Linked DNA regions of Homo sapiens: region 2 is linked to region 1. Evidence: promoter capture Hi-C in 16 types of primary human blood cells and fetal thymus (Javierre and others, 2016). All regions are on one chromosome and are shown on one strand. Each heading gives the region's core, a stretch centred on a gene start or on the middle of the fragment in contact. The rest is flanking DNA. Distances are from core to core; before and after follow the strand shown.

Region 1 (7,316 bases), core at 4,503-7,002:
AATTAGCTGGGAAGGGTGGCACACGGCTTTAATTCCAGCTACTCGGGAGGCTGAGGCATGAGAATCGTTTAAACCCAGGAAGCAGAGGTTGCAGTGATCTGAGATTGTGCTACTGTACTTTAGCCTGGGTGACAGGGCTAGACTCTGTCTCAAAAAAAAAAAAAAAAGGCATGTTTTCTATCTTTACATTTAATGTTGTTACAAATATAGTTGGGTTTAATTCTGCCACCTTGCTGTTTATTTTTATTTTATTTTTTATTATACTTTAAGTTCTGGGATACATGCCTAGAACGTGAAGGTTTGTTACATAGGTACACACGTGCCATGGTGGTTTGCTGCACTGCTGTTTATTTTTCATTTGTCTTGTCTGTTTTTTATTTCTGTAGTACTCTCTTACTGTTTTCTTTTCCATTTTTAAAATTTATTATTTTTCTTTTATCTTCTATTTTGCTTGTTGTCATACATCATTGTATTTTTTGAGATCTCATTATGCACTCTTGACCTGCCTGAAGTTATTAGGATACTTTTGCTTTGTCCTAACAAAGATCCAGCACGTTACAATTGTTTATTTATCCCCCTTGCTCTGTGTGCGGCTGTTGGCATATATTCCACCTCTACACATTATAAACCTCACAAGTCACAATTATTGTTGATTTAAGGACAAATGTTAAAAATACATTTATCCATTTATTTACACTTTCTAGTACTCTTCTGTCCTTCCTGCAGTTATGAGATTATCTTATTTTAGCCTGAAGTTCTTCTTTTAGCATTTTAGTGCATGTTTGCTTCAGTCAGATTCTGTTTATCTGAAAATGAATTTATTTTGACTTCCTTTGTAATGGCTATTCTTCTTAGGCTTAGAATTATACATCAGCAGATTTTTCTCTTTTTTTTTTATCATTATACTGTAAGTTCTGGGATACATGTGCAGAATGTGCAGGTTTGTTACATATACACGTGCCATGGTGGTTTGCTGCACCCATCAACCCATCATCTACATTAGGTATTTCTCCTAGTACTATCCCTCCCCTAGCCCCCCACCCGCTGACAGGTCCTGGTGTGAGATGTTCCCCTCCCTGTGTCCACATGTTCTAATTGTTCAGCTCCCACTTATGAGTGAGAACATGTGGTGTTTGGTTTTCTGTTCTTGTGTTAGTTGCTGAGAATGATGGTTTCCAGTTTCATCCATGTCCCTGCAAAGGACATGAACTCATCCTTTTTATGGCTGCATAGTATTCCATGGTGTATATGTGCCACATTTTCTTTATCCAGTCCATCACTGATGGGCATTTGTGTTGGTTCCAAGTCTTTGCTATTGTGAACAGTGCTGCAATAAACATACGTGTGTGCATGTGTCTTCATAGTAGAATGATTTATATTCCTTTGGGCATATACCCAGTGATGGGATTGCTGGGTCAAATGGTATTTCTGGTTCTAGATCATTGAGGAATCGCCACACTGTCTTCCACAATGGTTGAACTAATTTACACTCCCACTAACAGCGTAAAAGCGTTCCTATTTCTCCACATCCTCTCCAGCATCTGTTGTTTCCTGACTTTCTAATGATCACCTTTCTAACTGGTGTGAGATGATATCTCATTGTGGTTTTGATTTGCATTTCTGTAATGACCAGTGATGAAGAGTTTTTTTTCACGTTTATTGGCCGCATTAATGTCTTCTTTTGAGAAGGGTTCATTTCTCTTCATTATTTTTTCTCTAATCTTATCTTCACACTTTATTTCATTAAGTTGATCTTCAGTCTCTGATATCCTTTCTTTTACCTGATTGATTTGGCTATTGATATTTGTGTATGCTTCATGAAGTTCTCGTGCTGTGTTTTTCAGCTCCATCAGGCCATTTATGTTCTTCCATTTGGGGCTGGGTTTATAGTTTTGTAACCCCTATGCCAAATGTTGACACCTTATAGTAATTGGCAGGGATAAGTAGGAAATTGCTTGATAAATAAATGCAAACAAAAATGTATGCTGGCAATTCTTAAGACATTTCTAAATTACTTTGCCACTATTTTTAAAGCTAACTTATTTATTAAAGATTTTAAGTAAACTTAACATTTGACTAGTCTTTCCCTTTTTCTAATAAAGTATTTTATTTGAGCACTTTTATTTTTCTTTAATTAATAAATAAATAATTTATTTGAGCACTTTTATTTTTCTTTAAGCCAATTAATTATAGCTCTTCTATATTTTTTAATAGAGAAACATTGTGTACGCAACACATAAATACATAGATGTATTAGGTATACCGATAGAAGTACATCTTATAGATTCCTAAGACCTCTTTTTTTTTTTCTATCTTAGACTTGCAAACTCTTGATCATCTGTGTCATTGCCCTGGCAGTTGCCGGCTAAATAGCCCTAAATCTGCATATTAAAGGAAACTATTAGATGAAAAATTAGATAGCAAAATTTACATTTTAAGGTACAGAGAGGAAAAAGTCTGGTGGTGCTAAAGAGAGATTAAAAATGGATGTGAAATCAAACATAAAATTATGAAAATCTATCATAGGATTGTATAAGGAGACCAGTTTTATTTAGACAGAGACTCCCTATATTTTAACTGGATCTCTGAGCTCTGGGCAGACCCTACACTGAATCCTGGGTCTCCAAAAAGCGAAAATTATTATGAGGTTAGACTACATCATGCTTTTACAGTGCACTTAAAAAACTTTTTTCAACAAAGACATTTCTACATGTCTAAACTATACTATTCCTTAAGAACTCCAGAGTAGCCTCTGTTGCAGTAACTATTTTAGTAAAAAAATTAGGTAACACAATACAAAAGCAAGCAGTTTAAGAGCTGAGATGAAAAAAAAAAAAAGCTGAGATGAACTTGTCTGTTTACACATTTGGGGTTCCATAAGGAAACAGAGGTTTCTCCTCCAAGGGGAATCTGGCACCTTCTCCGTTTTCTGTAAGGAACCCTGGGTATTACAAACTATATTAGGTTTCCCATGAAGCAGAGGGTGCAAGAGAAAGAAGACACGACAAAAGTAAATGAAGAAAACAGAAGCCAGTCAACTAAGAAGAAAAAAACTTTTGCTCAAAAAGACAAGGTCCTAGGAGAGAAAAAAACAAAAAAAACAAAACTGGAAGCCTTTTAAATACAAACACACACACACAGGCACACAACACACATATGTTGGATGTTAGCTTTTAATTAAGCTTTTAACCATTGAGCTCCTTAAAAATAAACTTTTTCAATCTCATTACTGGCTGGGCATGGTGGCTCATGCCTGTAATCCCAACACTTTGGGAGGCCGAGGTAGGCGGATCACTTGAGGCCAGTTTGAGACCAGCCTGGCCAACATGGTGAAACCCCATCTCTACCAAAAAAATACAAAAATGAGCTGGGTGTGGTGGTGCAGGCCTATAATGCCAGCTACTCAGGAGGCTAAGGCATGGGAATCACTTGAACCTGGGAGGTGGAGGTTGCAGTGAGCTGAGATTGTGCCACTGCACCCCAGCCTGGAACACAGAGCCAGACTCTGTCTAAATAAATAAATAAATCTCATTATCATATTTCAGCTAGGACTAATTGCTGCTATTTCAGAAGTACCAAGTATCAAACCAGAAAGGGCTTAATTTAGGAACTAAACCCAGGCTGTGGTGGTGGAAAAAAAGAAGGCAGAACCCTTAGGTATGGAACTGCAGTGTGGGGTGACAGACATTACTCTTTTTGGTTGGTCTGGCTAGCAAAAATGTGGCCTTGTTATGTAAGAAAAGCCCTTTAAGTAGTCAAAATAAATTTTTTTTTTCTTTTTCCTTTTGCTAGCTGTTTTTCTCCCCCCACCACATCACCTTTTGTGTGTGTGTGTGTGGTGGGGAGGGGTTGAAACTTAGCCACTTCAGAGGCCTCACTTCTCATAATTTGGAACTTTCCTTTGGTTTCGATCAAGTCAGATAGAGTTCGTCAAACTCAATGCGAAAAAGACAAAAGAACAAAAAACAGAAACAACAACAAAAAAACCAGTTAAGCGAAACGAAGGATTGGGCAATTTATAAGGTTACTGAGCACACTAATGGTAAGGAGAAATTAAGACCAGCTGGTTGTTAATCTTAATAGCCAAGACAAACCCCAATTCAGTTACTTCCTAGGGATGGGTCTGAGGCTGAAGATTGCTCTCTACCACCCTAGAAGCAGAGGAAGAAAACCCCTCATCTTTCCTGTGGGAAGCGAGCTCAAACTCCATAAACGAGTTACCTGCCTTCCATTGTCATGGAAGCAGGAAAAAACTACTACTTCCTTATGTTGGAAGAGAGTAAAGCACACCCCGCCCCCCAACCCCCGCCCAACACACAAAAGGAGTTGTACAGCAAAATAAACTAGATCTTGACTAAATCTGGGTAGATCAGGGATTCTCTGGAGGGGGTGCTTCCAGGCCTCAGCAAATTGTCCTATTGGTTTGAGCCATAAAGATAGCTCAAGCTGGTACTAAGGACTGACAGATTTGTCAAAGGTCAGTGGCACCTCTACTCAGAATCCCTTTGTGGTTACCAAAATGTGAACCTTGAATATCTGAGTCAGATCTCAGTCAACTTAGGAAGTTTATTTTGCTGAATTTAAGGATGCACGCCCATGACACGGCCGTCGGAGGCCCTGATGACATGTGCCCAAGGTGGTCAGAGCACAGTTTGGTTTTATACGTTTTAGGGAGACATGAGACATCAATCAATATATGTAAGATGAACATTGGTTTGGTCCGGAAGGGCGGGACAACTCAAAGCAAAGGCAGGAGGGAGCTTCCAGGTCATAGGTAAATATGAGACAAATCATTGCATTCCCTTGAGTTTCTGGTTAGCCTCTCCAGAGGTGGCAATCAGATACGCATTTATCTCAGTGAGCTGAGAGATGACTTTGAACAGAATGGGAGGCAGGTTTGCCCTAAGCAGTTCCCAACTTGACTTTTCCTTTTAAGCTTAATGATTTTGCGGCCCCCAAATTTATTTTCCTTCCACATTTTTTTTTTTAAATCAGACTTAAGGTCTGCCTTGATGTTAATGCTGGAGGAGTGTAAAAAGGCATGTCCAACTCTTACTTCCCTTCGAGGCCAGAATAGTCTCTCAGGTTGAACTTCAGGGTCCCCTGGTAAAGGAGGGAGTCCAGTCAGACGGCTGCGGGGGAGGGGGGGCTTCGAATTTTATGTTTTACAGGCATTAGCGCCACCCATTTCTCCTTAACCCCAAACTTCCTCTCCCCACAACAGAAACGTCATCATTCTGCTTCCACTTATCCAGAAGAAAGGCAGAGGGCGCACACTGCGCAGCGCGGATGGGAAAGTTAACTGAATTATTTGCGGGAAGACAGAGGAGGTGGGGGGTCCCCCAAGCCCCAGCCATTTTGTGGCTCGTAGGGGTTGTCGCTTCCCAAGCCGTGAATGGCCCAAACCCGCCCCCCGCCCCAGGTCGGACTCCTGCCCCGCGCCCCTCTGGGTCGGACCCCAAGCCGAGCCCCCCAACCCCGCGGCTGGGCTGGGCGATTGGGGACGAGCTCCACACATGGAGAACCTGGCCTCGCCTCGCAAGACCGCGGGACGCGCAGATGTGAAGTGCGCCTGCGCGGGGCGCAGCCCCAGCTGCAGACGATCTGTGAGCGACGCGCCGGCGCAAGTCGAGGGCGGTGGCTTGGCTTCCCTGGAATGGGGGACGTCTTAGGACTGCGCCTGCGCGGGGCGCCGGGCCCTGGGCGGGGCCTTCCCGGCTGACGGCCTGCGTGCACTGCGCTTGCGCGGGTTGAGGGCGGTGGCTCAGGCTCCTGGAAAGGACCGTCCACCCCTCCGCGCTGGCGGTGTGGACGCGGAACTCAGCGGAGAAACGCGATTGAGGTAGGTGTCCTGATGGGCAGCTCAGATGGCTGGACTGCACGTAAGGAAGGACAGGCCAGGTGAGGCGTCCTCGCACTGCGTGTGCGTCGCTGGCGGACAGAGGCCTCCGCCCCCTTTTGGGACCTCCGAGCGCCTTCGCGATCTCAGCCACTTTCCCTGGCGTCCAAACGGGAGCTCGGTCCCCGTCACACCCTTCCCTGCGTGCCGCACCCCTTCCCGGCCACTCCCGCCGTCCAGCGCCTTCTACGGCCACGCCCACCCCACCACCATCTCTGTCACGCCCTTCGCGGCCACGCCCACCTGCCTGGCGGCCCCTGCCCCGAAGCTCGCGGCGCTGTCCCAGCCTGACCCTCTCGTGCCCCTGCGTCCACGCGTGGCCCTCTCGCTTCCTGCCCCCTTCTCACCCCCCTTCACTGGCCACCTGTTCCAACCCTCCATGATCCTGTTCCTCCCGAGGGCATCTTAGGAGGGCAGGGTCCTGCGCGCACTGCGGCCTCCACTCCGACCCCGTCCCAGTTTGGACCCAGGTCTTCCAATGAAAATATAATTATGCAAATCAGTAAGCATTTGTAACTACGAATATCACAAAAATAAGCTTCAAGTCTGGATTTAGAAGTGAAGCATGCATTTTAAACAAAGAATTGCTATGCAATTTTAAAAACACATTGATCCCAGAGCAGTGTGTGGATTACACTATCACTGGAAAAATACGAATTGAGAAGAAGGAAAAGACTGGAAGATGCAGACCTTGGTTCCTGTTAGTGGAAACACTGTAAGGTCCCAGGTAGGGACTTTTAATTGGAATTAAAGCTATCACACTTCTAAGAAATTAATGAATACTGATTTATTGCCTTAAGTCGACACCTGATCTAACAGAAACTAACAGGCTTCAGCAAATGAACAAGATTAACACCTTGCAGACTAGTGAAGAAAACACACTATTTGAAGTTTATGATTTTTAAATGCTTTTGTCTCTGTAAAGTATTGTAAATTTTCATTTCTACACTAATCTTCACACATACACATTTTACTTCTATTTGGTAGAGGACATCATGCACATTAGAAGTTAAGTGAACTCAATTATTAAGCAATGTAACAAGTACTTTGTGTCTCCTTCTCTTTTTAAAAGTAGAAATGGAAAAGAAAATGAAATAAATCAGCAGTTATGAGGCAGAGCCTAAGAGAACTATGGCAACATCAGGTGACTGTCCCAGAAGTGAATCGCAGGTAATTTCCGTTCCACTTCCTAAAAATCTGTGTTTAATGAATGTGAGCATTACAGAGAGCTAAGCGTCAGCTCACAGATGTGATGGAGCTTGGCTTGTGCCTTGGAAGGTGGCCACCGGCAGTAGAATGCTTAAATGTGAAGATTGTGAGGCAGAGGAAACGCAGTGCCTGTAAGGTGACATCCTGCATTGGGCACCATAACAATTCTAAGGAAATACTTAGCCCCAAAACATCAGCATCATTTAGG
Region 2 (7,300 bases), core at 3,044-5,543, 100 kb before region 1:
ATTAAGGAAGTATGTTTCCTTTTATTCTGAGTTTAAGAAGAATTTCAAAAATCATTTAAAATCATTTTAAAATCATGAATGATTTAAACTGTTTTTCTTTTCTTCCATCTATTGATATGATTGTTTTATTTTTCACCTTTATTTTGTTAATGTGGCAAATTATGTGGGTTTTCTGTTGAACCTCTTTGCATTCCTGAGATAAAACTGACTTGGTCATGATGCATTATTCTTTTTATGTAGCTGGATTCAGTTTGAAATTCTTTATGCATTACAATTATTAACACCTTAAACTGACCTTTTAAAATAGGCTAAAACAGTGGTTTGAGTTGAGGTTTTTTTTTTTTTTTTTTTTGAGAGGGAGTCTCACTCTCGCCCAGGCTAGAGGACAGTGGCACAGTCTCGTCTCACTGCAACCTCTGCCTCCTGGGTTCAAGCAGTTCTCCTGCCTCGGCCTCCTGAGTAGTTGGGATTACAGTGTGTGCCACCACTCCCAGATAATTTTTTGTATTTTTAGTAGAGACAGGGTTTCACCGTGTTGACCAGTCTGGTCTCGAACTCCTGACCTCAGATGATCCACCCATCTTGGCCTCCCAAAGTGCTGGAATTACAGGCATGAGTCACCGTGCCCAGTCTAGTATTTTTTTTTTCTCATTCATTTCTCAGGTCCCACAGTTCACTTATTTCATAGTGTTGCACCTGAGCTTCATATTATTACACGGGAAATTGAGCGCTCATTTGCAGGGCATGGCTACTCAACCTGCTTGCGTTGTGCCACAGGGACTTAAAGGGCTCAGTGATGACTTTGTGTTGCTTCTTTGATAGGCTGCTTGGTGAGGGGGTGTTAAGGCTCCTTCAAGTGTGGGGGGTTAGACTCAGATTTCTCAGTCTTCCTGTCCCATGGTCACCCCTGCCTCTGTCGTCCTCTCTAGACACCCCCAGTCCTCTAGGCTTTTCCTTTCTCTATTGTCCTGTCTTCCTCAGTGAAGCTCTCCCCTATTGAGTGCTTATGAGCATAGCAGCTGCGCCAGGAGGGGTGTGTGGTGGGAAGGACCTCAGGGGATAAGAGCTGGTTCCTGGGCCCTGTGCCTGGCGTGAGGTCCTGATGGCTTTCCAAGTAAAGAATGGATGGCATTGATACCCGGATCACCTTTGGATCTGTTGCTTTGGTTTATATTGTCTCTTGATTTTTGGTCAGGGGAACTTCTCTTTGGGGATGGCTGGTATTTTAACATCTTAAATTTAACATATTAAATTAGGAATTTAACATGTTAAAACAAAGATATGACCCATTTCATGAATTGTTGTAAAGATTAAAGAAATTATGTGCTACTCTTACAAATGATGTAATTGAGGGATATTTAACGTAATGAAAATCCATTTACAATGCAATATTAATTTAAAAAGTAGGGTGAAGTATCTCATTTCTTGAAAATTTTACAGGCATGTATACGTGTTTATATGTGTATAGCTGTATATATATGCACACATATGTACATATACATATGTATACCAAATACTGACTTTTTCTGCTTGCTTTTTTTTTTTTTTTTTTTTTTTTTTTTTTTTTTTTTTTTTAGATAATGTCTTTATTGCCCAGGCTGGCTCTCACTGCAACCTCCACCTTCCAGGTTCAAGCAATTCTCATGCTTCAGCCTCCCGAGCAGCTGGGATTACAGGCACACACCACCACACTGAGCTAATTTTTTGTATTTTTAGCAGAGATGGGGTTTTGCCATGTTGGCCAGGCTGGTCTCAAACTCCTGGCCTCAAGTGATCTGCCTGCCTCGTCCTTCCAAAGTACAGGGATTACAGGTGTGAGTCACTGCAACCTGCCTCTGCTGGCTCTTCTGTAGTCCAGATTTTCTGTAATAAAATCCTATTTTATTTTTGTATTAAGAAAAATAAATCTGTAAGCTATTTTTAAGAGAAAACAATGATGTTCATTACAACATTGTGCAGAATAGTTATTAGTTGGAAACTACCTAAATTTCCACTAATGGGGTAATGGTATATTTCGGGGTATTTTGGTTTCTACATTAAAATGTTAATTACTTGTTTCTTAAATTTTACATTGCTTAGTATTTTTATTTTGTTTTAGGTAAACTTTGGAGTCGGAGTTTAAAACTAGCTTATACTCTACTTAATAAACTGACAAGTAAGAATGAACCTCTACTTAAACCTGGAGACAGAGTAAGTAACTAGAATGTCACTTTGTTGGAAGGAGCAAAAGCAGGGACTTAAATAATCTGTTTCATTGAAATTAGTGTTCTATCATTTAGTTAGAATTACAGCATTAATACAAGGGATTTAAAATCAGCAGTGAGGACTGGGTGCGGTGGCTCATGCCTGTAATCCTAGCACTTTGGGAGGCTGTGGTGAGCGGATTGCCTGAGCTCAGGAGTTTGAGACCAGCCTGGGCAACATGGCAAAACCCTGTCTCTACTAAAAATACAAAAAATTAGCTGGGCGTGGTGGTGCGTGCCTGTAATGCCAGCTACCCGGGAGGCTGAGGCATGAGAATCTCTTGAACCCAGGAGGTGGAGGTTGTAGTGAGCCAAGATCTCGCCACTGCACTCCAGCCTGGCGACAGAGTGAGACTCCGTCTCAAAGAGAAAAAAAAAAAAAAGCAGTGAAAAATATTAAATATGGCAAAGTTTGTGATGTAGAGTAAAGCAGCATTCTTTTTCTGCACTCGTTGTTTCATTGTTTGTCCACTGTTTCTTCATCTTCTTTTCTGTTTGACTTCATATATGTTGATATTAAAAATGTTAGATTCCAGAGCTTAGATTTTATGAATTAAAATCTGAAGGTCTGAAACCCTGCTGTGAAATTCTGTATTTTTATCTCCTTCCCTATTCTATGTGTCCAGGTAACCTCCTTGTACCTATCTGCCAAAATAGGATGCTGGAGACTTATTCTCTTGTGCTACACTGCCCTATATGGTTGGCAGTAGCCATTTGGGGCTATTTAAATTAACCAAAATTAAATAAAATAAAAAATTTAGTTTCTTGGTTGCACAAGCCACATTTCAAGGGCTCAGTAGGAGTGTGGCTAGTAGCTACTGTATTTATAGATCAGAGGTAGAACATTTCTGTCATCATAGAAACTTCTGTTGGACAGTACTACTGTAGGCAAGCTGGACCAGACCGGAGGACCCTGGTATACTAGAAAGTCCAGGGTGGAAAATAGGAGAACATGGTGAAAATCAACATACCAGTGAAATCCCCTAGTGAGAAGGTCACCTGTGTCAGATCACCCAACAAGGAAACTGCAGGTTAACAAGCTGGCAGACAGTTCCAAGTAGCTCTTTCAGTGCCTAAGTCTTTAATATGAACTATTAGCCAAGGACTTTTAAGAAGGAAATGTCAATATGAGAGAAAATACCAAAAGACAAAGAAAAGGGAAGGGAAGAGAGGGAGTGAGAAAGAGACAAGAAAAGTAAGGAAGGGAGGAAAGAGGAAACAACAAGGAAAGCTAGATACAGAAAACAATGTTTCTAAAAAGTGAGTATTAATATTCTTGGAAATCAGAGATGAAGATGTTTCATAAGTCAAGAAAAGGATGCCGGTAGGAAAGACTAAGAGATGGAGAGCGGAGTAAAATAGGACAAAAAGACTCGATCAAGAAGACACAACACCTGACTGATAACTGGAGTCGAGAAAGAGAAAGGAGAACAGAAAGTAGAACATTTTAAATGAAAATAGTAATTCAGGACAATATCCCGGACCTGGAGAGTGTAAACATTCAAGGATGCACACCAAAACGCATGCCCATAATATTGCATAATACGAGGGGTACAGAAAAGAATCCCAGAGCTTTCAGGGGAAAAGTAGGATGTACACAAAGGATTGGCAATGACAGTGGCTTTTGGGATTTCTCATTGGTAAAACTGAAAGAGAGTGGAATGATGCTTCAGACATTCAGAGGGAATATAATTTTAACTTAAAATTCTGTTCCCAGAGATTCAACAGATTTGAGAATAGTATAGCCATTTTCAGACATGCAGGACTCAGAAACGTTTGGCTCGCAAGCACTTTCTTGTCAAGTTCTTAGAAGATGTCCCTCAGCCACATGAGTGAGTGAGTGAGTAGGGTGCAAGCAGGAGGACCACAGTGGAGGCCCCAGGACGATCACTGGCAGCAGTCCAGGGGGGGCAGCAGAGCCACCATCAGGAGAACCAAGACTCCAGGGTGGGGTGGAATCCTCAGCACCCACCATCAGGAGAACCGAGACCCTCAGCAGTGGAGTCCTCAGCAGCAGGGGACACTCACGGCTCTCCTGAGTGGGTGGTTATTTGGAAAATGACCCACCAGTAGGTGGGTATTTGACCCAGCTGAGGGAGTATTTTAAAACAAATTAGCTAGAGAATACACAGAAAGCAACGCAAGTAGAAATGGAGGTAGCTGTTATCAGAAAAGAAAGGAAATGTGTACTTGGCTATAAAAATGTAAACAGTTTAAGAATAATACTTTATGATATGTTGTGCTCATAGATGAGATTTTATGCAACGCTTTAGAATGAATTCAAGAATCACTAATTTTCTTGAAAAACATTCTTACAAGGATAAAGACTTTCAGATTCTTGACTTGCAAGAGAATCTCTTTGGTTAGGTGAATCATAATAAAATGGACAAGGTCACAGTGATTGAGTTGAAGAAATTGGTGGCAAATTCTGCCTCCTATAATATTACACTTTATAAAAGTGAGCACAGCTCTTCCTAACAAATTCTGTAAAAATATACTTTCCATACCAAACATCTAGTCTGAAGGTTATAGGTTACATTCTGGGCAACCACTGTTAAAACCAAATTTTGAAGGAGAACCTTGCCCTTTTCAACAAACAAACTTGTTAGAAACTAAATTTCCAGACCTCAAGTACAGAATATAGATACAGCTTAAATTTTGTCTTACAAAGTCAGCACTTATTGGTTATTCATTGTTGCGTGTTCTCAAAGGCCCTGAGTCAACTGTCTCTACTCAGTTAAATACTATTTGGACTTGTCCCTTATGGTTTCAAGCACAATTATTACAATATTTGGGGCTTACAAAAATTTTATTTATAACTAGCTTTTAATTTAACTAGATATTGTAAAAATTGGAAATTTGGAATATTCATTTCTTTGTCCTGTTGTAGGTGGCGCTCGTGTTTCCGAATAGTGACCCTGTGATGTTCATGGTTGCATTTTATGGGTGTCTCCTGGCAGAGCTGGTTCCTGTCCCCATAGAAGTGCCATTAACAAGAAAGGTAGCAAACCCATGGCTCAGGTCCCGTGTGGTTCGCTTCTGAACTTGATACCAGCAGTATCTTACTTCCTTTTCACTCATGTGGGCAGGCAGCAAGCAGCTGTTTTGACAGAGGAGAGAAAGCTAGTAGTCAACAGGCTGGCCAGGACTCAAGAGAAATCAGATGCCGTTTTGCCTGCCTCTCTTCTTGTTAATGAGAGGGGCACTGAGAACCGTTTTGCTGGTGATGCTCCCACACCACACTCTTATTAGGTGGAGCTGTTCTATCATCTACATGAATTTCCCAACAGAAATGATAGCCATTTTTTCCTCTAATGAATAGAATTATGATTCAATAAGATTTTGTTCAACTTTTCCTCAAAACCATATGTTTATAGAAAATAATTATTATTTCTTAGGGATAAATATATCATTACAGTGATATAGCTCACTTCTCAGTGGCAGTTTTGAATAAACGAGATGGAAATTATCTTGCATTTCTGTTCACTTATATGACCGTAGGCAGTTTCTGTTGCTGATAAATTATTAATGTGGGGTCTTGCTGATCTAGGTATCTGTAACATTTTTGATATAACTATCAATAATATGATTACTGAAAAAAAATAGACAAGGCATGAATTTGAGAAAATCAGTTTTCTGTCATCCTGTCCCAGAATTCAGGCAGTTGTTAACAGGAGCATTATCCAGAAATATTCAAGAATCCCAAAAGTAAAATTTGCAAATCAAACTAGTGTATCTCAAAGCATAATATGTGATGGGCAGGTATTTGAATGCAGTGGTTCTTAGGAGTAAAACTAGAGATTTGTCAAATTTATATGAAGAAAATGACAGAATACTGCTGAGGGACACAGAAGACTTGGCTACAAGGAAATGTGTTTCTGTGTGGAAATAATTTAATATCGTTGGTGACCAGGCCTCTCTAGATTAATTTGTAAATTTCAAACATGATTCAATAGAAATTTCAATGCCATTAACTTTGGAGTTTATTAAAAATGCTTCTAAATGTCATTTGTAAGAATAAACTTTGAGAAATTAGCCCATTAAACTTTATATTTCAACACAAATACAAACCAAAATTATCTTTTAAATTTAAACATAGTTGTCACATTTTCATGAACTATTTCCGTGAAAAGATCATATATATCAATAATGGGACTGAATTATTCTGGAAGTTTTATGAGGGATGAAAAAAAGATCTGTTCTCTGTGCATGGCCTGGAGCACCAAGGGTCTGGGGCTGTGGCTGCTGTGAGCACCCCACCCCACACGGTCACTCTGCTTTCTGCAGGATGCAGGCAGCCAGCAGGTTGGGTTTCTGCTGGGCAGCTGTGGAGTCTTCTTGGCCCTGACCACAGACGCTTGTCAGAAAGGCCTCCCCAAGGCACAGACAGGAGAGGTGGCAGCTTTCAAAGGTGAGGCCTCCCAAGGGAAGGGGAGTCAGTGTTCTGACTGTGGTCTGTGTTAAATGCATGGTGTTCCAGAAATTAAACATGACAGAGGTGTCTGGGTCTTCAGCAAAAGTGATCCCTTGTTCGAGTCCTTGGTGAATCTCGGTTTTCATCTGGCTTCATGTCTCGACCTGTACTGTCTAATGTGGTAGCCACTGGCCGGATGTACCTTTTTAAATTATATAAAATGAAATGAGACTAAAACTTGCACTCCTTATTCGCTCAGTAGCTAGTGCTGCATGTTGGAGGCGCAGGCTTCGAGTGTGGGGAGCAGATGCCTCTGACTGCTTGCTGTTCTGTGTCCTGTCTGTGTGTCACAGGTTGGCCCCCGCTCTCCTGGCTAGTGATTGATGGGAAGCATCTAGCCAAGCCCCCAAAGGACTGGCACCCTCTGGCCCAGGACACAGGGACTGGGACTGCCTACATTGAGGTAATGACTGTTCCTAACTTAGAGAATGTAAAAACATGTCCCACAGGCTTAAGTCTTGCTTTTCATAAGAATGTAAGTTGCTATTCTTTTTTGTTAAGTTTCGGCCTAAGAGTTCTTGTTTTATCTCTGCCCTGGAAATACAGAGTGTCATATAAATCCTTGCTCAGATCCTTCCAGGTT

What was found. The method cuts DNA at HindIII sites, captures the fragments that hold promoters and counts their contacts. A CHiCAGO score of 5 or more calls a contact.
Region 2: a fragment that was not itself captured here is called in contact with the fragment with the promoter of PRMT2 in region 1 in 7 of 17 cell types (naive CD4 T cells, total CD8 T cells, naive CD8 T cells and 4 more); the score reaches 15.8 in naive CD4 T cells.

Annotation. Positions count from the first base shown.
Region 1 is chr21:46,629,922-46,637,237 of GRCh38, forward strand. PRMT2 (protein arginine methyltransferase 2) reads left to right here and starts at 5,753. Exons shown (of 12, transcript NM_206962.4): 1 at 5,753-5,842; 2 at 6,518-6,626; 3 at 6,975-7,069. The coding sequence starts at 7,031. RefSeq lists an enhancer at 4,851-5,521 and silencers at 5,292-5,511, 5,622-6,171. The HindIII fragment of the contact is 1,501 bases long and covers 4,935-6,435 here.
Region 2 is chr21:46,526,994-46,534,293 of GRCh38, forward strand. DIP2A (disco interacting protein 2 homolog A) reads left to right here. Exons shown (of 38, transcript NM_015151.4): 9 at 2,099-2,190; 10 at 5,134-5,244; 11 at 6,531-6,654; 12 at 7,011-7,120. Among named protein-coding and RNA genes, the nearest start is that of DIP2A-IT1, 68 kb to the left of the region's middle. The HindIII fragment of the contact is 8,719 bases long and covers 1-7,300 here.